Regions from separate parts of the Homo sapiens genome. Here all the other regions are linked to region 2. The links are contacts of gene promoters, found by promoter capture Hi-C in blood cells and fetal thymus (Javierre and others, 2016). All regions are on one chromosome and are shown on one strand. Each heading gives the region's core, a stretch centred on a gene start or on the middle of the fragment in contact. The rest is flanking DNA. Distances are from core to core; before and after follow the strand shown. Region 1 overlaps LOC105376646 (a long non-coding RNA gene). Region 2 holds the start of ALX4 (ALX homeobox 4). Region 3 overlaps EXT2 (exostosin glycosyltransferase 2). Region 4 has its middle 60 kb from the start of CD82. Region 5 has its middle 5.2 kb from the start of CD82. Region 6 has its middle 77 kb from the start of CD82. Region 7 has its middle 25 kb from the start of CD82.

What was found. Contacts are between HindIII fragments. The CHiCAGO score rates a contact against its expected background, and 5 or more counts as called.
Region 1: a fragment that was not itself captured here is called in contact with the fragment with the promoter of ALX4 in region 2 in 8 of 17 cell types (megakaryocytes, naive B cells, M1 macrophages and 5 more); the score reaches 8.5 in megakaryocytes.
Region 3: a contact is called between a fragment that was not itself captured here and the fragment with the promoter of ALX4 in region 2, in 1 of 17 cell types (endothelial precursors). The highest score is 6.0, in endothelial precursors.
Region 4: a contact is called between a fragment that was not itself captured here and the fragment with the promoter of ALX4 in region 2, in 1 of 17 cell types (neutrophils). The highest score is 5.3, in neutrophils.
Region 5: a fragment that was not itself captured here is called in contact with the fragment with the promoter of ALX4 in region 2 in 1 of 17 cell types (total B cells); the score reaches 6.3 in total B cells.
Region 6: a contact is called between a fragment that was not itself captured here and the fragment with the promoter of ALX4 in region 2, in 1 of 17 cell types (M2 macrophages). The highest score is 5.0, in M2 macrophages.
Region 7: a contact is called between a fragment that was not itself captured here and the fragment with the promoter of ALX4 in region 2, in 8 of 17 cell types (total B cells, naive B cells, M2 macrophages and 5 more). The highest score is 12.4, in total B cells.

The regions. Positions count from the first base shown.
Region 1 is chr11:44,522,054-44,525,347 of GRCh38, forward strand. It overlaps LOC105376646 (a long non-coding RNA gene), which reads right to left. Exons shown (of 5, transcript XR_931232.1): 2 at 1,786-1,985; 3 at 450-555. Among named protein-coding and RNA genes, the nearest start is that of CD82, 42 kb to the right of the region's middle. The HindIII fragment of the contact is 846 bases long and covers 1,588-2,433 here.
Region 2 is chr11:44,308,538-44,311,687 of GRCh38, forward strand. It overlaps ALX4 (ALX homeobox 4), which reads right to left and starts at 1,602. Exons shown (of 4, transcript NM_021926.4): 1 at 1,060-1,602. The coding sequence starts at 1,525. RefSeq lists an enhancer at 1,580-2,508. The HindIII fragment of the contact is 7,283 bases long and covers 1-2,526 here.
Region 3 is chr11:44,102,785-44,105,959 of GRCh38, forward strand. The region is part of intron 1 of EXT2 (exostosin glycosyltransferase 2); the gene reads left to right. Among named protein-coding and RNA genes, the nearest start is that of EXT2, 8.7 kb to the left of the region's middle. The HindIII fragment of the contact is 774 bases long and covers 1,539-2,312 here.
Region 4 is chr11:44,503,838-44,506,960 of GRCh38, forward strand. No RefSeq gene overlaps it. Among named protein-coding and RNA genes, the nearest start is that of CD82, 60 kb to the right of the region's middle. The HindIII fragment of the contact is 8,151 bases long and covers 1-3,123 here.
Region 5 is chr11:44,558,961-44,561,957 of GRCh38, forward strand. No RefSeq gene overlaps it. Among named protein-coding and RNA genes, the nearest start is that of CD82, 5.2 kb to the right of the region's middle. RefSeq lists enhancers at 203-839, 2,875-2,997. The HindIII fragment of the contact is 2,347 bases long and covers 163-2,509 here.
Region 6 is chr11:44,487,303-44,490,688 of GRCh38, forward strand. No RefSeq gene overlaps it. Among named protein-coding and RNA genes, the nearest start is that of CD82, 77 kb to the right of the region's middle. The HindIII fragment of the contact is 5,220 bases long and covers 1-3,386 here.
Region 7 is chr11:44,539,278-44,542,648 of GRCh38, forward strand. It overlaps the pseudogene RPL7AP79. Among named protein-coding and RNA genes, the nearest start is that of CD82, 25 kb to the right of the region's middle. RefSeq lists an enhancer at 518-1,124. The HindIII fragment of the contact is 480 bases long and covers 1,603-2,082 here.

The DNA of each region.
Region 1 (3,294 bases), core at 761-3,260, 210 kb after region 2:
AGGCGGAGGTTGCAGTGAGCCGAGATTGCACCACTGCACTCCAGCCTGGGTGACAGAGCGAGACTCAGTCTCAAAAAAAAAAAAAAAAAAAGTGTGGACTACAGACAGTCCATCGAGGCTGGCTGTCTGGGGAGGAATTGGAGCAATGCAAACTGGATGCCTTTTTGCCCTCCACGTCCTCACAGCCCCACTGCCTTCTGGGTCTCTTAATCATCTATTTTGGGTCCAGATTTTTTAACCAGTTGAGATTCTTAACACCTGTCCCAAAGGATCGGTCAAGCTCCCCATTAATTCCCTATTTAGGAGGAAAGGGAGGCTTTGAGGAGGAGATTGACATGTCTGCAACTGTTGTGGAGCACAGGACTAGAGTTAGCACTTGAGCCTGCAAAGATTTTTCTGCCTCCATCATTCATTCATTCATTCATTTATTCACTCACTCATTTACTCACCTACTGTGTGCAAGGCCCGTTTGTTGAGCACCTACTATGTGCAAAAGCAATGTTCTAGGCATTGGAATACCTTCATGAACAAGACTGGCAAATATTTTGTCTTCAGCTATAGCCCAGTAGAAAAGACAGGCATGAGACAGAAGTTCAGAGAATAATTAAGGCATGCTATGACAAATCACTTTGCTCACATCTCTGCTCAAATGTCACCTCTTCTGAGTGACCTTTCCGGACCCCCATGTCTAAAATACCACCCCATCAATCTCCATCCCCTTTCCTGATTTTTCAAAAAGTAGGAGTATGAGTATTTGGTACAAGGTTATGCATTTCTTTGTTTTCCTGTCTTCCCCACTAGACAGTGCACACCACGAGGGTGGGAGTTGTGACCCCTTTGTGCTCTGTCTCCAGCACCTGACTTACCATGTGCTCTGAGTAGATACTTACTGAATGAAACATGAATGAATGAATGAATGCTACAAAGAAGATATACAGGTGCTCTGGGAGGAAAAACAGGGAAACCCAGCCTAGCCTGGAGTTCAGGGGGAGGTAACCCCCAAAGCAGGAGCTAACTTCAGACTGAGCTCCAAAGCAGGCCAGGACACTAGAAAAGAGGCAGGAAGTCTGGGCGCGGTGGCTCACGTCAGTAATCCCAGCACTTTGGTAGTCCAAGGTAGGCAGATCACGAGGTCAGGAGTTCAAGACCAGCCTGGCCAATATGGTGAAACCCCGTCTCTACTAAAAATACAAAAAAACTAGCCAGGCATGATGGTGTGCGCCTGTAGTCCTAGCTACTCGGGAGGCTGAGGCAGGAGAATTTCTTGAACCCAGGAGGCGAAGGTTGCAGTGAGCCAAGATTGAGCCACTGCACTCCAGCCTGGGCAATAGAGGAAGACTCCGTATCAAAAAAAAAAAAAAAAAGAAGAAGAAGAAAGAAGAAGAAGAAGAAGAAGAAGAAGAAGGAGAAGGAGAAGGAGAAGGAGAAGGAGAAGGAGAAGGAGAAGGAGAAGGAGAAGGAGAAGGAGAAGAAGAAGAAGAAGAAGAAGAAGAAGAAGAAGAGGCAGGAAGAGCATTTCAGGCAGAGGAACCACAGCATGCGCAGAGCCCAGGATATCGACGATCTACAAAGGTCCCCTATCTGCAAAGCTTCCCCTACAGGACAGTCACAGGCAGCTGCCTTGAGGGCACACCAGGGGGAGCCAGCAAGCCTTTGATGGCACCGCAAAAGAGGCTCCAGATCCTCGGATTAAAATTCTGGCTATGTGATCTTCGGCAAGCTCTTTAACTTCCCTTAGTTAGCCTCTTTTCTCATTTGTAAAATGGAGATGAGAGTGACACCTACCTTGAGGGGTTACTGTAAGGACACAGAATGACAACTTCAAGTTTTTTAGATGAGAGCCTGATCCGTGGTGAGACTTTAACAAATGCTGGTGGCCGGGTGCAGTGGCTCATGCCTGTAATCCCAGCACTTCGGTAGGCCGAGGCAGGAGGATTGCTTGAGGCCAGGAGTCCCAGACAAGCCTAAATAACATGAGATCCTGTCTGTACAAAAAATTGGAAAATTAGCCAGGTGTGGTGGCATATGCCTGTGGTCCCAGCTACTCAGGAGGCTGAAGTAGGAGGTTTGCTTGAAACCAGGAGTTCAAGGCTGCAGCAAGTCATTGATTGTGTCACTGCACTCCAGCCCGGGTGATAGAGTAAGACCCTGTCACTAAAAAAGTTAAAAAAAAAAAAAAAAAAAGCTGGCTATGTTAGCACAGTGCTGCCTCTCCTCACCCACTAGAAAATTTAGGCCAAGGTAATCGGGCTGTCACAGAAGCAATATTCTCAGCTGGCTTTAATCTAGGAACGGTGGGGTGGAAAATAAAAAAGACTCCCAGTCCCTTGAGCAAAGCAGTTGCCTCAGCCTCAGTATCCCCATCTGCTCAAGGAGGCCTCGGCCGGCTTCTCCGTGTGGCCGAGTTTCCCTCTCACGGCCTGTTCCCAGCCAAGCTTCCAGTTCCCTGAGGTTTTCACTTCCTGTCAGAGACCTCAGGGCCTTACACATCCAGGCCTTCACCTCCTGCACGGATATTTTGCACTTTCCACCTTCCCCCAGCCCAGATGTCCTGGAGTCCTGCCTCCCCGGCTCCCTCTGGGCCTGCTCTCTGTCCCTGCCTGGCCACCACCTAGCCAGCAAGCTGTTGGTGTCTCCCCAGGCACGCAGCGCCTGGTGCAGGGGCTACACTGCCCTGAAAACCCCCAGGATACCAAGCACCCCCGAACTCCACCCATCTGTGATGACTTCAGCAGAAAGTCCTGCCCATACTTGTGGAAATTAGTGTGTGTGTGTGTCGGGGGCGGGGGTTGGGGGCTAATCTTAGAGAGGGCCCTATTTGCCCCTCGCTGCACACCACAGGGAAGACATGCTCCAGGTAAGTGCACGTTTTCACACATACTCTCGAGTGCACGTGGGCTCGAAAGGGCTGGAAAAGCTTCCCCCTGGACAGAGCTAGTCTCAGAAACTCAGGACGTGGGAAGGGGGTCACTGAGGGGGAGGCTCTGGCACTGGGCCCAGCACTGTGGTTTCTGATGCTGCCTCAGCCGCCAATTGGAAGGAAGCTTGGGAGGAGGAGGAGGAAGCGCTGAGTGTGCAAATGAGCAGTGACATGGGAAATCTCACAGGGCAGAGGCAGCCTTCAGGATCTACACCAGGACGAGGTGACCTGGTTTCCCCTGGCTTGGTGGCCCTGGAGGAGTCACTGTGCTTCTCTAGGCTGATTCCCTCTTCTGCAAAATGTCAGTCCCAGACAGTAGGCAGCAAAGAGTGGGTAGACCCGAGTCCCAGTCACAGCCAGTCTCCCCGGGATCC
Region 2 (3,150 bases), core at 352-2,851:
CCTTCCGCTTTGGGGTTCAGGAACCCCGATTCTCTGGAAGAAGAGAAGGCCTAGGCTACTGAGCTGCTCTGGCTAGAGACGTCCTTGAGTGTCTCTCTCTCCCGGGCAATGGTGGCTGTGCTCTGGGGGGCCCAGGCCTGCCTCCTGTGGCTGCGTTCAAGGCAGCTTGGAGGTCATTTAGGCCAGCTCCCCCGGGTTCCCCGTGGGCTCAAATCAGGACCCAGACCCTTCTCTCTTGCCACAGCTCTGGGCCACCTGGGACTCGGGACTTCCTGTCTCCCTTCCTACTCTGTCCTAAACCATTGTTCAGAGGCCTGCCGCCTCCAAGAATCGCCGAGGGAGAAGCTCCAGGGGAACTGGCCTGCCCGCATCCCCACTGCCAGTAGCGCTCAGGGTCCCAGGACTCGGGTCTTGCCAGACCACAGTGTCCCCTGGGACCCTAGGGTCTCTGGCTCCGCACTGTGTTGCGCCAGTGCGCCTGGATTTCCCGTGAGCTTTCGGCCAACCACGCTCCGGGCTTCCCGCCTGGCTCCGCACCTGCGGCGCTCTCACCTGCGGCGGCGCCGCCCGAGGAGCCTCCCAGCCGGCGAGGAGCGAGGCTTCTGCAGTCCTGCTGTCCCGCAGCCCCGCAGCCCCGCAGCCTCGCAGCCCCGCAGCCCCGCAGCCCCGCAGCCCCGCAGCCCCGCAGCCCAGCGCCAGAGCGCTGCGCGGAGACTCCTTGCCGCCGCACGCCCTGGGCCGGTAAGAAGCATCCGCTTCAAATCCCGCCCAGCGGGCAGCGCAAAGCGAGCGGTTTGGGGAAATGCCGAAGGGACCGGGAAAAACAAACTCCAAGTCGAGTTTAACAGCCGAAACGCTCCGTGCCTAGGCCGGCGGACAAGAAGGAGACAGAACAGATCCCTTGGCTCCCTCGCAGCGATCGATCCCGTTTACCGACCAGAGTCACCACCCCGCCCCCAGCCCGCCAACTCATACCTCCCGCAAGCCACCAGTTTCAAGGGATGCGGAAGCCAAGCACCCCGTGGTCCCCAGCACCAGGTGACCCGCACGTGCACTCACCGTAGCAGGGAACCTGCAAGGCCGCGCTGTGGCCGCTGCTGCCTTCCTGGAGTTTGAGGCTGCCGTCCGGGGGCGTCTTGCAGGCGCCTCGCTGCAAGTAAAGATGCGGTTGCGCGGGCGGCTGGGGCTGCGGCTGCTGCTGCTGCGGCTGCGGCTGCGGCGGCGGCTGGGGCTGCGGGGTCGACGGCTGGGGCTGGAACTTGTTAAAGGAGCCCCGCGCCCCAGCTCCACTCTCCAGGGGTGTCGCCAGGTCCTGCTGCCCAGCGCCGTAACGGGCCCGGCTCTTGGCGTCCCCGAATCCCTGTGCTTTGGCGGCGGCCGACAGGAAAGTTGTGCCGAACTTGTCGCCTCCGGGAAATGCCCTAAAAGGCGACGAGCCCTCCCGACTCTGCGACACCGGGCTGTAGTAGGCGTCCATGGCAGCGGCCGGCGACTCGCAGTAAGAGACGCAAGTCTCAGCATTCATGCCTGGCTTGCGCAGGCGGCGGGCGGGGACGCGAGCGAGGGCGCGAGGACGCCACCGCGCGCCTTGGCTGGGAGTTTGGGGAGGCGAGGAGGCTGTGGCTGTGCACTCCTTGCCCGGCCTGCTCGCTCTCCCTCCTCCCCTCCACGCCGGCCTCTCTCTCTCTCCCCCTCTTCTTTCTCTGTCTCTCTCCTCTCTCTCCCTCCTCTCTCTCTCTTCCCCTCCCTCCCCCCCCCTTCCTCTCTCTCTCCCTCTCTCTCTTTCCTCCCTCCCCACAGCTAGCCGAGGGAAAGAACGGAGGGCAGTAAAAAGATTCAGATGTTTCGGAAAGTTGACCAGATCTCCCAAACCCTCTTAAGGTTTTGCAGCGGAAAAAAAAAATAAGTAAATTTTTTTCCCTGCCTTGCTTCTTCCTTTCCCCCTCTCTCGTCCCCTCCTCCTCTCTCCTTCCACTGGCCCCTGCCCCCTCCTCTCCACTCTTAAGGAGATGCTACTAACTCGCTAGCGGGGATTCAACCCGGAGGCGCCCGAGGGCTTTTCCGATTCTAGGCGGGGCTGGGGAGATGCCAGGATCCCCAGGGCTCCCGAGGCTAGGCTGAGAATTGGCGGGGTGTCGGAGCTTTGCCTTAGGGCAAAGGGAAATGCAAATTTTAATGACAGGTTAAAAAAAAGCCCCCCAAAATAAACCTAACAGGTTTTGACATTCGAAGCCAGGGGGACCACGGGCCTGCGGATGCAAGCGAGTCCTACGGACTCCTGCGCGCGAGCTCGCGGGCGCCGCTGCGGGCCTTCCCGCTGGCACCTTTTCCTAGGTTTCCAACCTTCCTCCCCATTCCCGTTCCTACGGGAGATTAACACACACACAAGCCTTCGTCGTCCAGTGCATGGTCACTTGCACGTCTTGTTAACTATTTCCCTCTGCTGTAAGGGCGCTGGGCTGGGATGTAGCGGAATCTGTGCTCCCTCAAGCCCTGGAGAAGCCCTGGGCTGGGCCCGGCTTCAGAAGCTTTAGAGCGCTGCCCTCTGCGCTCCCGTCTAGAGGCCGCACCGTTCACGCCCCACGTCTGCGCCCAGGCGAGGGGATTTCCTGCCAGGCGAAGTACAGAGAGCGGACTCTGGAGACCCCCTGACCTTGCCCGATAGTCGCGCTGTCACCTGTTCACTCCTTGGGGTCAGGGGTCGGGGAGAGGGGTGAGACCGTCTCTTCCCTTTCTGGCCTCACTGCCCCCGACTGTAAAACGAACTGCTTGGTTTTGATAGGTTGTGGTTTCACCACCACTGCGAGCCTCAAGGCCCCTGGCACCGCCACAGCAAGGGAAAAAACTTTGCGCGTGCAGCCCCTCGATTTCGCTTCATGACAACCGTGCTAGAGATTGGCGCCCCCAATTTTCTGATGAGCTAACGGAGGCTCAGAGAGGGGCGGCCACCTGGTCCAGGTCACACAGCTGGGAAATAGCCGTCGCGCCCTGGAACCTCTGCTCAGGCTAGTCCCTCCACCGACCTGGAAGGCCGTGCGGACAGCGTAGATGCAGAGGGGAAACTGGCCCCCGGCTGTGGAATGGTTCAAGTTGAAGGAGACCAGCGAGAGCAGCCTTCCTTAAACCGCTGAGAAAATCGTTAAGCGAGAA
Region 3 (3,175 bases), core at 676-3,175, 210 kb before region 2:
ATGACCATTAAGGAGACTAAACATCTTTTTATATGTTTATGTGCCTTTTTTGCCTTTTCTGTGAAATTCCTGTTTAAGTGTGTTTTCTGTTTTTTGTTTGTTTTGTTTTCTTTTTGTTTGTTTTTTTCTTATTGCTTCGTACAGTTTATTCTGGTTGCAAGTCCCTGTTGCTTATATGTGCTGGAAATATATTCTTCAGGCTTGCAGCTTGTCTTTTTACTTCCTTATTGTGTTTTTGATGGAAAATTCTTAATGGTTTCTGGTTTTTGTGTTTTGGAAATCATTCTCTGCCAGATGTCATTGATATTCTCTATTGTGTTCTAAATATTTTATAGTTTTTCCTTTTACATTTAGTTTTAAGATATACCTTGAATAGATTTTTCTCCCCTTTGGCTGCTTTTAATATTCTTCTTTAACTTTCTTTTTAGCAGTTTGGCTTTGATATATCTAGGTAGCATTTTCTTTATATATATATATGTTCTGTTCTGAGTTGAGCATCTTGAGTCTGTGAATTGATGTATTTTATCATTTTTGGAAAAACTTAAAAAAACACAGTTGGATTATCCCATCGGCTTCTACATTCAGTCTGTTGCAGTGTCATATGTCATGTAGCCTCTGGAAAATGGAAGTGAATAAAGCAAATGTCAGTATTAAACTAGTATAAGCCCTTTGAAAGGGCCTGGGATGCCTGAAGCATACTTCAAGAACCAGTGTTCTAAGATTTTGGTATGAAGCATTTGCTAGCCTCCTAAACTGAGCTTTGAAGTGTTTCCTCTTTTTTTTCTGAACTCTGGAATAATTTGTGGAAAATTGGAATTATTATTTCTTGAATATTTGGTAGAACTTGGAAAATTTTCTGGGCCTGGAATTTTCTTTATAGGAAGATTTTTAAACTTTTGATTCAGTGTCTTTAATGTTATAGAGCTACTCAGAGTTGCTGTTTCTCCTTGAGATGCTTTTGGTAAGTATATTTTAAAATAATTTTTCCATGTTATCTGAGTTTTCAAATGTACTGGCATAAATTCATTGATACCATCTTATCTTTTAAATATATGCAGCATTTAGAGTTATGTTCCCCTTTTCAGGTATTTATTTGCACCTTTTTCCTTGAATTCTTGATTAATCTTACCAGAATTTTATTAGTCTGTTTTTAAACAAACAACTTTTAGCCTTGTTGACCATTTCTATTTTGTTTTTTAATTAATCTCTGTGCTTTTATTTATTATTTTCTTCTGTTATCTTTGGTTTTACTTTGTTGTGATATGTCTTTTTTATAGTTAATCTGCAACTCATAAAGATTTGTGAAGCTCATGTGTGAATACAGTTTTTGTTCCCTTAACCTCAATTTTGTCATACATAGAAGCTATTTTTCAAGCTATGGAGGACCCATTATTGGGTGGTATAATTGATCTAGTAGGTTATGGCCAGAATTTTTTAAAAAGCAATAGAATAACAGAGTAGAAAAATGGAGGGTTCATTGCGTGTTCTGTGGCTAACACTGTGTACTCACAGTACATAGCTTAAATGTTGTTTTTTGAAGCTTTATTTAAAATATCCATATACACACATATATATATCTGTCTATATTGGGTCACAATATAACATATATTTCTTACTGTCAATTTTAGTTTAAAAAAAGTTTTGAAAAACACTATTAAAGGGTAGTTTGTCTAATATTAATAAAGGTTTAAAACCAGATGGCACAAAATACTTGAGGAGCTTGTTTTTAAATGACATATTCTGTGGCCCTATTTTAAACTTACTGATAACAGCCTCCAGTGGTGGGGCCAAGGAATCTGTTTTAACAAACTCTTGTGCTTCTTACCCTTCAGGTGTTGGGGAACCACTGATTCAAGTATACACATAGACCTTGAGAGCTTCTTGGGAAGTTCTAACATGGGCCAGCGGAGGGCAGCTCCTTGCCTGCATTTGTCCCAAAACTTCCTGTCTTCAAACTCCAGGAGGGATATGCAGAATGGCAAGGAAGCCATACCATAGGGTGGGCCTGCAGCTGGTAGGGGATGGGAGCAGGCAGGAATATTCTGCTTACTGTTAGAATGATAGAAAAAGTGAAATCGCTGTCATGCCACATTTCTGTCATAGAACAATTAGAATATATTGAGTGACTGATGTATATACTCCAAAGATGATAATCTTTTAAGCTCAAAATGTATGAATTTTCATGTATTAGTCAATGATAGGCAAATTCCTTGTTATGTTCCAGTTTCTGGTCTTAGAGAGATATGACTTGAAATGATTCATGACCATTTAGCATATTTTACCCCCAAAACTGAAAGTGATTGCAACATTCAAGCTTGGCAATACTCAGCTCGCTAGGCAGGAAGCAGTTTACCATGTGGGCACTGATGGGGAGAGCTCCATTTATCCGAAGCAAAAATGGTTGATAACTCTAAGATGGTCTATGAGCTTTTCAGTTACTTCCCATTATATTAATAGCTTTCCTGGAAGATCCGTGAGTAGAATGATACCATTTTGTTTATTTATTTTTATTTTATTTTATTTTTTGAGAAAGAGTCGTGCTCTATTGCCCAGGCTGGAGTGCAGTGGCACAATCTTGGTTCACTGCACCTCCGCCTCCCAGGTTTAAGTGACTGTCTTGCCTCAGCCTCCCAAGTAGCTGGGATTACAGGTGTCTGCCATCATGCCTGGCTAATTTTTGTATTTTTAGTAGAGACAGGGTTTCACCATGTTGGCTAGGCTGGTCTTGAACTCCTGATCTCAGGTGATCTGTCTGCCTTGGCCTCCCAAAGTGCTGGGATTATAGGCATGAGCCACTGTGCCCAGCTGTCTTTTTGTGGATTGGTATTTTGACATGCAGGATGCCAAAATAGCTTGTTGCAGTAACATGGTAAGTATGTGGCAGATGATGCAGCCACACTCAAGGCTCTGCCCTCCCCCGAAACAGTATCCGGGAATCATATAGGAGAGGCTTGTTTGGTAAGGATCTTAAAATGTGGTCTACATGGGAACTCTACATTTTTAGCTGAGGACTACAAATTTTCTTTACATCTCAGTCAATAATGCTTATTGGCTGTTTTATATATCTATAGCTGTATAACAAACCACCCCAAAACTTAGAAGCTTTAAACAACAACAGTCATTTATTTGCTGATGATTGTGGAATCTATGCAGAGCTTGGTGGGGATGGCTCATC
Region 4 (3,123 bases), core at 359-2,858, 200 kb after region 2:
TGAGGAGCCTGGAGGAGGCCTAGCTGCTCCCACGGTCCCAACCTGAGGGTCTGGCGGCTGAGAACAGCCATCACCATCATCACCGTCATTGGAGGATGAAAGGATGGCAGCTGCCCAGACCCGAGGAAGCCCTGCCTCCCACTTGGGCCCAGTAAAATCCTGAGAAACTCATGGCAGTGGGTGTGGCCGCGCAATACAGCATCAGCACAGGGAGGGTCCAGGGAGAAATCAGCTCATCCCGAAAAAAGAAAGAGGTCACATTGACTTACACATCTGAGTTTATCACCTGCAAAGGGTTACCCGCCTTAGGATTCTGCCTCACACTAGTGCTTCCTGCTAGGATGTGCAGTTCTGTGCACCCCTACCTTTCTTCCTACACACACACACCACACACGCACATATACCCTCCATACACTCTCCACCCCCGACACACACACCACCCCACACTCTTCATATGCTCTCCATACACACGCCCTGTCTCCACATACTCACCGCACACCCTCCATACACTACACACACACCACACACACACCAAACCACACTCTCCATACACTCTACACACACACACTACACACTCTCCATACTCTCTCCACACACACACACACTGTCTCCACAAGCACCACACACCCTCCATACACTCTACACACACACACCCTCCATACACTCTTCACACACACACATTCTCCACACACACGCCACACACACTTTCCATGCACACACACATTCTACATACACACACACTCCACACCCTCCACACACACACACCCTCTGTACACACACCCTACACATACACCTCATACACCCTGCATATACTCTTCACACACATTCTACACACACACACACCCTCCATACACACTCCCCTACACACACCATACACTCTACACACACACACCCTCCGTATACTCTTCACACACACATTCTACAGACACACACACACCCTCTGTACACACACCCTTCACATACAGCACACACACCCTCCACATGGAGACTCTGAGGCCCAAGAGGATCTCTCTGTGACCCTGTGTGAAAGGCAGAATAATACCACCTCCATATATCCCCAAGCCCTAGTCCCCAGAATCTGTGATATGCTATGTTCCATGACAAGGGAGAATTAAGGTTTGTCCTGGTCTGCTTCAGCTGCTGTAACAAAATGCCCTAGACTGGGTGGCTTAAACAACAGGCATTTATTTCTCAAGGTTCTGGAGGCTGGGAAGTCCACGGTCAAGGGGCCAGGAGGGTAGAGGTCTGGTTAGGGCTCGATTCCTGGCTTGTTGACAGGCCTCTTCACCAAGTCCTCACATGGCTGAGGCCAGAGAGAGGGCTTACTTAGCCCTTTTCCTCTTATAATGACACTAATCCCATCATGGGGGCCCCACCCTCATGACCTAATCACCTCCCGAAGGCCCCATTTCCTAATACCATTGCATTGGAGCTTCGTGCTCCAACCCATGAATTTGGAGGGACACAAACATTCAATCCATAGCAAGATTATAGAAGGAACTGGGGTTGTTAATCAGCTGACCTTGAGTTGGGGAGATTATCCTGGATTATCTGGGTGGTCCTTACAAGTGAAAGAGGGCAGTGAGAGTCGGTGTCAGAGCTGGAGAGAGATTTGAAGATGCCACGCCACCTTTGGAGATGGAGGAAGGAGCCGGAGCCACAGAACGTGGGTATCTTCCAGAAGATGCAAAAGACAAAGGAGTAGATTCTCCCCTGGAGCCTTCAGGAGGAATGTAGCCCTGCAGACACTTTGATTTTAGCCCAGCCAGACCCATTTTGGACTTCTGCCCTCCAAAACCATAAGATGATACATTGTTATTGTTTTTGGTGACTAAGCGTGTTACAGCAGCAATGAGTCTAGTGCTATCTGTTTCCTCAGCACAGCACTTTCCCTTTGCCTCCTGGCCTCTCTTCTGCTGTCTCCCACCCCACCCATTTTATCACATTGCTGTTGCTCTCCTGGTCCCCTACTACGGTTTGGATCTGTGTCCCCACCCAAATCTCATGTTGAAATGTAATCCCCAATGGTGGAGGTGTGGCGTGGTGGGAGGTGATTGGATCACAAGAGTGGTTTCTCATGGTTTAACACCATCCTTCCTTACTGCTGTCATTGAGATCGTGAGATATGGTTGTTTGAAAGTGTCTAGCACTTCCTTCCACACTTCCTCCTGCTCCGGCCTTGTGAAGTGCTCACTCCCCCTTTGCCTTCAGCCATGATTGTAAGTGTCCTAAGGCCTCCTCAGAAGCTGAGCAGATGCCACCATCATGTTTTCTGTATAGCCTGCTGAACCATGAGCCTCTTTTCTTTATAAATGACCCAGTTTCAGTTTTTTTTTATAGCAGTGTGAGAATTGACTAATATACTCCACAATCACTTTCTCTTCCTTGGACTTCTAACTCCAGCCCAGAGCAGGGGCCACTCTGAATCTTTTTTTTTTTTTTTTTTTTTTACCAGTTTTGGGCCAGGCAGCTCCCAAGTTTCAATTTCCATGGGGCAAAGTGGGAGCAAGCAGCCTGGGACAGGGGCCTGGACCCCCAGGCCTCCTTGGTCTTTTCTGGGGCGGGGGCAGTTGCTTCCACCCACCCCCCAAGCCAAGGGTGGGTGTGGAGGCCCAAGGTGGGCTAGGAGCAGGAAAGCAGGGAAGAGGCAGGGTGGATGGAGTGGGAGAGAGGCCGTCTCGAAGGTACCAGAGTGAGTCACACCTCGTAAAGCAGTGTGAACTGGAGCATGGAGAGTTACTGCCATCGGGACTTTCATGTCCTTTCAATAAAGCCTTATCAGCACCAAGCTGCATTTTTGGCTCTTAATTCCAGATGTGGCCCCAGCCGGTCCCCAGCAGGGCCTCCTTTCTCCCTGCCTTCTTTCTACACGGGCCACTCAAGGCAATGCTGGGCCAGCTGAAGGAGTGAGACATCCAAGTAGCCTAAATCAGCCTTTCAGGGCTGGGTTCTGGGTCACAGGAGCCAGACAAGCCCAGCCAGTTTAGAGGAAGGTCATGGATGCAGATTTCTGCCCCATGAGGCAGAGAGAGAGGAGGACCTGCTGGTGGCTCTGCCAAAGGTCTGGCTGAAAGACAGGGAGGTGGCCACATCCTGGGCTAATGCTGGGACACCTGGATCTTC
Region 5 (2,997 bases), core at 86-2,585, 250 kb after region 2:
CAAATGACATATATTGGGATGTATATAACCCTACCATGGGTTTAAGCTGATGCCTAAAAAGAAAAATAAACGGGTAGAACAGGGAATTTGGGGAGGGGGGGACATGATTTAATAGTTTCAAAGACTTACCCAAGTGCCACAGTTGTAAGATAAATATAAATAAGCTTTAGAATATGTAAAGTGCTACGCAAATGCTAGTTATCAAATTAGTTAAATATATTTAAATTAGTTATTTTACAGCTTACTTTTAAAACGGTGGCTGCCATTATTAGTGTCGTAGTTGCTATGGCAACATGGCAATGTACAGGGGCTAAAAGCCCCCTGAAGAGTAACCCCTGGACCTTCAGATGTAGTAGGCGGCAGGGCAGGATTTGAGCAGGGGCCTCACTGATCTTTCTGAAATGACTGAGACAGGAACAAATCAATGGCTCAGTGTCTTCTGTGGGAACTCAGCCCCTGTCCTCAGCTACAACCCAGCTATAATGGGCTTAGAGTTCCAATCCCCTTTAAGTGCTTTGGAGAAAAAAATAAAGGTCGGTGGTCCTGCTGAGCCCATTCAAATGCAGGAATGACTGTGTTCAGGAATAGAGAAATGGAAACAGAAAGTGTGGGAAAGTGCTATTAACCACTTCCTGGCCTGAGACTCGGCAAGAGGACAGAGGATAGGGCGGGGTTATGCCAAGCAAGTGCTGGAGCCCAGCTTTCTGGGGCCAGCCTTCTTTCTGTAAGCAGGAAGCAGGGTCCCTTCAAGGCCCTGGGGAACCTCCTTGATCCAGTGCGAGCTTTTGCGATTCAGTGTTGGGCGCTCACTGGGTCCCAACTTGGGCCTTTCCCCTAGGGCTCAATTTCAGGAACTGAAAATTGGGTTAGCTATATATAAGCTGCAACTTCACTTTCCTCCATCACTTGTTAGTTGTATGACTTTAGCATCTGAGTGCTCCATTTCCACATCTTGGGAATGGGCCTCATAATAGTATGTGCCTCACTGGGTTGTTGCTATCAGGATTAAATGAGTGCAATTTTTAAGTTTGTAACTTTAAGGAAACAGTGCAGGTTTAGGGAGGGAAGTGCTAACTCTATTCTGAGGACTCTTGAAGAAAGATCTTAAGACATCCACTTACTAGGCCAGGCGCGGTGGCTCACGCCTGTAATCCCAGGATTATGGGAGGCCGAGGTGGGTGGATCACGAGGTCAGGAGATCGAGGTCATCCTGGCTAACATGGTGAAACCCAGTCTTTACTAAAAACACAAAAAAATTAGCTGGGCGTGGTGGCACACACCTGTAGTTCCAGCTACTCACAAGGCTGAGGCAGGAGAATCACTTGAACCTGGGAGGCAGAGGTTGCAGTGAGCCGAGGTCGCACGACCACACTCCAGCCTGAGCAACAGAGTGAGACTCCATCTAAAAAAAAAACAAAAAAAAGACATCCAGCTACTCAAGACCAGTTGTCCACTGCTGAACTTCTTATTCATTTGTGCACAAATGCTTGTGTGATACATACTGTATACCATTTTTTAAAACAATCAATTGAGTTTGAACTCTCAGCTCCCATCAGAGAAACCCTCCTCCAGTCATTCTGAGGACTCGCTTGGGGCAGATTGTATTTTTCACAGATGGCTGCAACAATATCTCCTTTCTTGAAAACTCTTCTAGAATTTTGTTACCCCCTGGTTAAGAAAGAGACTATGTACCCTGCTCTTGAACCAGGGCCTTGGTGACTGCTTCTACTAATAGGATGCAAAGGAAGTGATCCTATATGACTTCTAAGGCTAGGTCACAAAATGCCATGCACTTCTAAGTGAGTCTTTGTTCTTCAAAACCGGCAGCCAAATTATGAAGAAGCTCAAGCAACCTGTGGAGCAGCCTCATGGAGAGGACCAAAGGCCTCCACAGCTCTGGCTGACCTCCCAGCTGGCAGCAAGTGCCAACTTGCTAGGTGTGTGAGTACACCATCTTGAAAATGGATCCCCAACCTCCAATTGAACCACCTGACATTGCGTAGAGCAGAGATAAGCCGTTGCTGCTGAGCCCACCCCAAACTGCAGATTTATGGGCAAAATAAATGAGTGGGATGGTTTGTTACATAACAGTAGGAAACAGATACCCGCACTCATTCTCTTTACCTTCCTCCACCAGAGATGTGCAAAAGTCTTGGGGCCTTAACCTAGGCCCAGACACTAACAGGGAACTGGCCCCCATGTTCTTGCCTACAAGTTCTTTGAAGTCTCCTGCTCAGCTGTTCATCTTCCACCTTTGGGGTGGGGGAATCTTCTGAGAGCCTGGCAATCCTATAGCCATACCTCTCTGAGGTCTTGCCACACCACCGTCTTCCCCATCTCCAAGTTGGCCATGGATATCTTCTCTCAAGGCTTTCTAGGGTGGTTCTTCTCACCCCTTTTCCCACCTCCAGAACTCCTGGCTCCACCTCTAGAATGGACTAGAGGTAGAGTCTCACTAGAAGTGTCTGCGCTTTCTGCCTGGCAAAATGCCCAAGGTGAGTCATGACAAAGCTTGCCTTCTGCTGGAAGAGAGGGGATAGGGACAATGCTGAGGGAGCCAACCCAATGTGATATTTCAGTGAATGACTCTGCTATGGTTTGAATGTATTGGAAACTGAATCCCCAAATTCATATGTTGATGGTATTTGGGGGTAGGGCCTTTGGGAGGATTAGATAAGGTCATCAGGATGGGGCCCTCATGATGAGGACTGGTAGCTTTATAATAGGATGAAGAGAGACCTGCGGTGGCATGCCCTTGCCCTCTCACCATGTGATGAGTCAGTAAGAAGGCTTTCACCAGATGTAGCCTCTCAACCTTGGAATTCCCAGGCTGCAGAACTATACAAAATAAAATTCTTTTATCGATTACCCAGCCTATGGTATTGTGTTATAGCAACAGAAAATGGACTAAGTTAGACTCAGATGCACATCTACTCAACAACTGTCCCTTAAGCTTCCAGGCATGTGCTAGAAGCTGGGGAGACAAGGCCAAATGGC
Region 6 (3,386 bases), core at 767-3,266, 180 kb after region 2:
TTCCCAGGGGCTGGGGCAAAGGCCAGGCAGACCCTTTATTACACAATATGTATGTAACATAGAAAAATATTCCTCTGGAGATTTCCTGGAGAGAGATCGCATCCCTCCAAATTTTCACTAAGGAGTTTTTGGGCCAGGCACGGAAGCTCTCACCTATAATCCCAGCACTTTGAGAAGCCGAGACAAGAGGATCCCTTGAGCTCAGGGGTTTGAGACCAGTCTGGGCAACATAGGGAGACCCCTATCTCTACAAGAAAAAAATTTTTTAAGTTAGCCAGGTGTGGTGGCTCATGCCTGTAGCCCCAGCTGCTCAGGAGGCTGAGGTGGGAGGATCGTTTGAACCCAGGAGATTGAGGCTGCAGTGAACTGTGATTGTACCACTGGGTGACAAAGCAAGATGCTGTCTCATAAATAAATAAATAAAGGAATCTTCCTGCCTTCTGCTGGATCTACTGTGGTTTCACAGAGTAAGCAGATTCGGATCTGAGGCCAGTCCCCATCTCCATCCACACTCGGGGCTTCCCCAGGGTCTAAGACCCTAAAGATCTGCTTCCTGAGGATAGACTTCTAGTTCAAGCTCAAAAAAATACCCTCCTGAGGACTCCTGTTTTTCCATTTTTCATCCTTGATGAAGTGGTTGGTGCTGGGCACACTTTCTATTATCAATAAATATAGAATCCTTTGAGACCTAGGCCTTAGGTCAGTTTTTCCTACCAGGTAAAACCTTGAGCCTCAGGGTTTTGGCAGGTGATAACTGCCTGGAAAAGCGGCCCACTGGATGCTGTGACATTCTGATCACCACTGCGTAAGAACATCTTAAGAAGCAGCTGGCTCTGCGGGACCCCACATGGCAATCCTTGGCCAGCCTCCCCCTGACCACCCCCCAGACTGGCCTCCCAGTGCCAGGGCCCGGCCTCCACTGGAGGGCAGTGGCATCTGGTTCTGCTTTGCTTGGGAAAACAGCTCTGCTTACAAATATTTGGCCTGTGGAGCTTCTTTCCCCACTCGGCCTCAGCTTGTGCCTGAAAATGAAGTGTTTCTGTAAGGGACCCAGAGACAAGGCTGGAGGCCGGGCAAAGGGGAAGCCTCTGTCTAACTCAGCATTTTCCCTAATGGAGACTGCATCCCCAGCCCAGCGGGGTGGAGAGGGGTCTGGAGCCTGGAGGTGGGTGGTGTTTCTGGATAGGAGGGCTGAGCTGGCTGCGGCCCACTGACTGCCAGCCACACTGAGACCCAGCACCAGCCCCAGTGGCACCACACAAGAGGGCCTCCAACTCTCTTCTGCCAACACAGGTCCTCCCCGCTCCCTCCCTCCCTCCCTCCTGGCTCTGGCAGCCATCTTGGCCCTCGATGCAGCCTTTGGGCCTGGAAAGCAGACGACCTGGGAGGAAGGATCTGGCAGGATGAGGCCAGCAGAGCTCTCCCAGAGAGGAGAGCCAGGTGGAACTAGGCAGAGGGGCTCTAAGCCAGGCATCTCCCCCTGAGAGCTCACAGACAAGAGGCAAAGCCACTCAAAGTTGCCAAGAGCCATGATTCATTCACTTGTCAATTACTAAGTTCCTACTCAGTGCCAGCTCTGAGCTAAAACCTGGGATACCATGGTGAGCAAAAGGGAACACCCTTTGTCCAGAACACCCAGCCCTCAGCTCTTCCCAGCATGACTCCTTCCTAACATCTAGGTATAACTCTAATTTCCGCTCATTAGGGAGGATTCCCCTGACCACTTGTCTTAAGTCACACCTCCTTATCCCCCACTTTCTATCCGTTTATTTTATCTTTATTGATAGCATTTCTAACAACTTGAAATTCTTATCTATTTGTCTGTTTGTTTGTTTGTTAGTTCCCTAGCATGTAAATTCCAGGAAGGCAAGAACCTGTCTTATTTATCATTGTATTTCCAGCATATAATAAGGATCAGATAAAGTTTTGTTAAATGAATGAATGAATATTATTACTGTTAATACAAAATGTATTTAGAAATGCCCCAAATGTCACCTGTGCAGCCATGTTTGATTTCCCAGAGCATGAGGTCTACTGGCCAGTTAAACTGATTTCCAGCCAGTGTGTCCAGGGCCTCTGAGGGGAGCTATAGGGTTTTTCTGAGAGAATGGTTGGGCCCTGTTGCCTTAGTGGCCTGGAAACCCTGCTCAGGAACAGTCTGGCACAGGAGAGGAGCCTCCACCCCCTATCATGTGGCTGACAGGCCAGAGAGCAAGAGGTCAGGGCCAAAAACTAAAAACCATTTTCAAAAGAGGGAGAAAATTCAACCATTGACTGCAATGTAATGAAATGAGAGATCCACCTAGCAAAAAGTTGCATTTTAAAACCAGAGGTCCTCCAAGGCCTTGGCATACCAATCCAGCATGTGCTCGCTGCCCTGTAACTCATCTCCTCACTCTGTACTTGGAGCTCTGACCTGGGGGTTCAATATTCTTCGGCTGCGTGGAAAGCTGGGAGTCCCTGGCCTCCAGGGGTGGCCGAATCAAAGGAGATGAAGAAAGAGGAGAGAAATCCTGCATTTAATCTGGGCTTGGGATTCGGAAGCTATTCTGGAGCTTTGAATAAAGAGCAGGTTTCTACAGAGCTAACCCATTTTATTATAGTGGTTCTGAGCAATGGACTCTGGAGCCATCGGGTTCAAATCTTGTTTCTACCAACTAAAAGCAACGTGACCTTGGGCAAGCCGCTCTACTGTTCTGTGCCTTAGTTTCTTCACCTGTAAAATGGGGATAATAGTGGTACCTACCTTGAAAATTGTCTTGAGTATTGAGCGAGACAGTGTCTGTGAAGTAATCAGGACAGTGCCCAGCACACAGCTAGTGCCGATTCAATGTTTGCCTTTATTACTATCCTTCATCCACACTGATTGATTTCCCGTAATACTGCATCAGAGAGTAAATCATGATAATATTACATCTCAAGGAACTGAAGATTTATTTTACCTCATTGCCAATTGAAAAGGCAATGCTTCTAGATTCTTGTGGATTAAGCTGAAAGTTTTGAGTTCTAACATAGATTACAAGAAAGACAACATATTTGGCAGGAGAGGCCAGCCAGAGCTCAGGCCTCACTCTGGGCCTTCAACCTCTCCCATTCCAGTCTTTCCTGGAGAATAATCTTTCTGAAACATGGATCTTGAAGGCTGGAAAGACTAAGATAATTAAAAACTGTTGTAAACAATAAGACTGTTTGGTATAGTTCTAGTTACAAAATAAATATACAAAAATCAGTAGTATTCTTAAGGTGCAACAAGAAGTACTATGATGAAAATAAAGAGTCTGTTCACAAAGGCAGCAAAAACAACAGCAAAATAAAATATCTTGGAATAAGTTTGATAAGAAATGTGCAGGTTCATATACAAAATTAGGCTGAGCACGGTGGCTCAC
Region 7 (3,371 bases), core at 593-3,092, 230 kb after region 2:
GCACTTACTGTGTGCTAGGCATGGTCCTGAGCGCCTTATTTGAATGAACTCATTTATTCCTCCCAACAACCCTTAGGAGGCAGGTACAACATTAGCTTCGCTTTACAGATGAGGAGACTAATGATCAAAGAATGCGAGTAACCTGGCCAGGGTCATGAAGCTTGAAAGATGCAGAGTCAGGTTTTGAATGCAGGCCGCCTGGCTTTGAAGCCTTGACCTTCATCTCAAGGTTATGGGACTGCCTCTCTGTACACCTGGTACAAGTAAGGCTTCTCTGGCAGTAGGGGTTGGGGGGATGTGAAGTTAGGAACCACACTTGCTCTGCCCATCCCCCACCTCCTCTGGATTCCTAAGGAACCATCAAAAGCTGCCGACCCCAGTGTGGAAATCAGTGCATGCATGACATCGATAGGTCTTAAGCAGGGAAGAGGGAAAATTCTTTTTGAAGGAGAATTTGTATCATTTTAATGATTTTTATGTACAGAAAATGAAAGTGTACATTTAACCCAGTTAAGTGGCAAGTTCTTTAACCTTTGCCTTTTCCAACTTGGCAATGCAAGCCATAGATTTGGGACCCAGGATATTGCCTCCCCAGTGACGACGGATATCATCATATCTGTCGTTGTAATTAGTCCTGACAGCTTCCACCAGCTTCATCAAAACTCCTTTGTCTTCTGAGTTAACCTGTGTGAAGGCAACAGTGGTGCAGGTCTTCCTGTGGACTGGACGTTCCAGTCTTGCCTTCCCCTTGATAATGCAATCAGAGACCCACATTTTACAATGCAGGGCAGGCAGGAAGACAACAAGCTCGATGGGATCCTCGTCATGTCAAGTGCTACTCAAAATGGTTAGGCCCATTGTCTCCAAGCTACCTGCTGAGAGGTGATCGGCCTAGCATGCACACTCTTCTCTGCGGGAAGCAGCAGGCTGGCAACCAAACGTCTGTTCACATGCAGTCATCACTGGCTGAGCCTTCTTGTTCTCCACCAAGGGGTAACGGTGTTGACTCCTGCTTGAAGGACAGGTAGTCTCTTAGTGAGGATGTCCCCTTTGCTGTCAGCTTTCTTCTCAGCCTGGGCCAACAGCCTCTGCTTCTACTCTTGCTTTGTCTCTGGTCTGTATTTGTGGGTCAGCTTAGGCAGCTGAGTAGCTGGTGGTCCAGGTCCTGGGTGAACTGGTTAATCACAGGGGGCACTTTCAGCCACTTATAGAGGATGGCTCTCTGCCGCTGCAACCTGATATAGCAGGGCCATTTCACAAAGCGGCTGAGGTCACTTTTGGGCTGGATGTCCAGTGCCAAAATTCTTAGGCCTTTTCTTAACAGAGGGGATTCACCACTTTCTTGGTCTCCTGCTTCTCCATGACAGCAGGGGCCGGGGCCACTTTCTTCCCCCTGCGCTTCTTTCCTCTTGGCATCTTGGGAAGGTGGAGGAGCAGAAGAAAATAGATTTATGTGTTGCAATGGTTACTCTAGGGGTGGAGCAAGGAACTCAAACCAGAAGCTGTGATCAGATTTGGGAGGTGAACTGGGGAGGGAGTAGAGGGCACAAGAGCAGAGGAGGAAGGATGATCTGTGTTCACTGAGGAGATCACGTGGTCATAAGCTTGATTTTTAACTTACTTGGAGTGAGGTATGTGTCTAATTTGTCTCTTGAGCCAATCAATTTATTCACAGCCATTTGTAGAACATCTACTATTCACTGTTCTCAATGCTGGGGACACAGTGGGAAACAAGGACATAGGTCCTGCTTTTATGAGGCTTACACTCTTGTTGTGGGAGGGGGTCTAATAATGACCTAATAAGTAAATAAGATGAAGATGGTGATAAATATCATAGGGCAGATAAAGCAAAGCAATGTGCTGAGAGAGGCCAACCCAGCTGGTTTGAATTCTTACGCTGCCACTGGCTGTGCAGATCTAGGAACTGAGTGTTTCTGGCAGAGGGAATGGCAGATGCAAAGGCCCCGAGGTGGGAAGGTGCTTGGGGCATTAGAGAAACAGAAAGTGTGACTGAAGCATGAGAGGAGAGGAGGTCAGACAACTAGGCGGGGGTTAGAGCACATGCCTAGAGAAAAAAAAAAAAGCTTTGATTTTTGTCCAGGGCAATAAAACACTGTAGGAAAGTTTGGGGCAGAAACATGATAAGGTCTGATTTGCATTTGTAAAGTATCACTCTGACTGCTGAGAGGAGAAGGATTGTAGGGTGGCAAGAGTGAAAGCCAGGCTAAGTGTGGTGGCTCACGCCCATAATCCCAGCATTTTGGCAGATCCAGGTGAGAAGATCACTCAAGGCCAGGAGACCATCCTGGGCAACATAGCAAGACCCTGTCTCTAAAAAAAAAAAAAAAAAATTATCTGGGTGTGGTGGCACGTTTGTAGTTCCAGCTACTCAGGAGGCTGAGGTGGGAGGATCACTTGAGCCCAGGAGTTGGAGGCTGGCTGCGGTAAGCCGTGATCACACCACTGTACTCCTGCCCAGACAACAGAGTGAGACCTTATCTCCAAAAATAAAAAATAAAAATAAAAAAGACTGAAACCAGGGAGTTGAGTTGTCCAGTTAGGAGATGATTGCATTAAGCCAGGAGGGCGATGACGGTGACTTGGAACAAAAGGGTGGAAGGAGGCAGATCAAAAGCATTGGAAGGTAGAGGTGGCTGGGCTTACTGAAGGGCTGGAAATCGGGGTGGATGGGGAAGATATGTCAAAGGAAGGAACCAAGGGTATGTCCTAGAATTTGCACCGTGGATGAATGGTGCTGTGACTTACTTAGATGAGGATGACAGGAGGAACAGGTGTGGGGCAGATGCTAAAGGGAAGAAGAGTTCCACATGTGGTTGCATGAGAAGAGATGAGACATAAAAATGCATATATGAGTCCAGGAACTGTTGAACAGATCAGATCTGGAATTATAAATCTAGCTGTCATCTCATGAAGAAAAGGTGATCCATGACCAGGGAGAAGTGATTCACAATTCTATATCCAGCCATAAAAAGAGCTCCCATCGATATCGCTATTAACACCACCAATGTCAATGCCATTCTTGCATTACCATTGTTGTCATCAGGATCACCACCATCATCAGCAACACAATCATCACTATCACCACCACCACCATCATTATCATCACCATAATGACCTCTCATTACCTCACCATCACACTTCACCATTCTTCTCATCACTACAGTCATCACTCCCATCATCACTGTAGCAACCAGCATCTGCATCATCATCGCTATAGCAACCGCCACCTCCATCGTCATCACCATAGCAACCATCTCCATCATCACCACCATAGCAAACACCATTACCATCCTCATCACCATAGCAACCACATAATTCTCATCAGATACCATCATCAGCATTGTTATCAT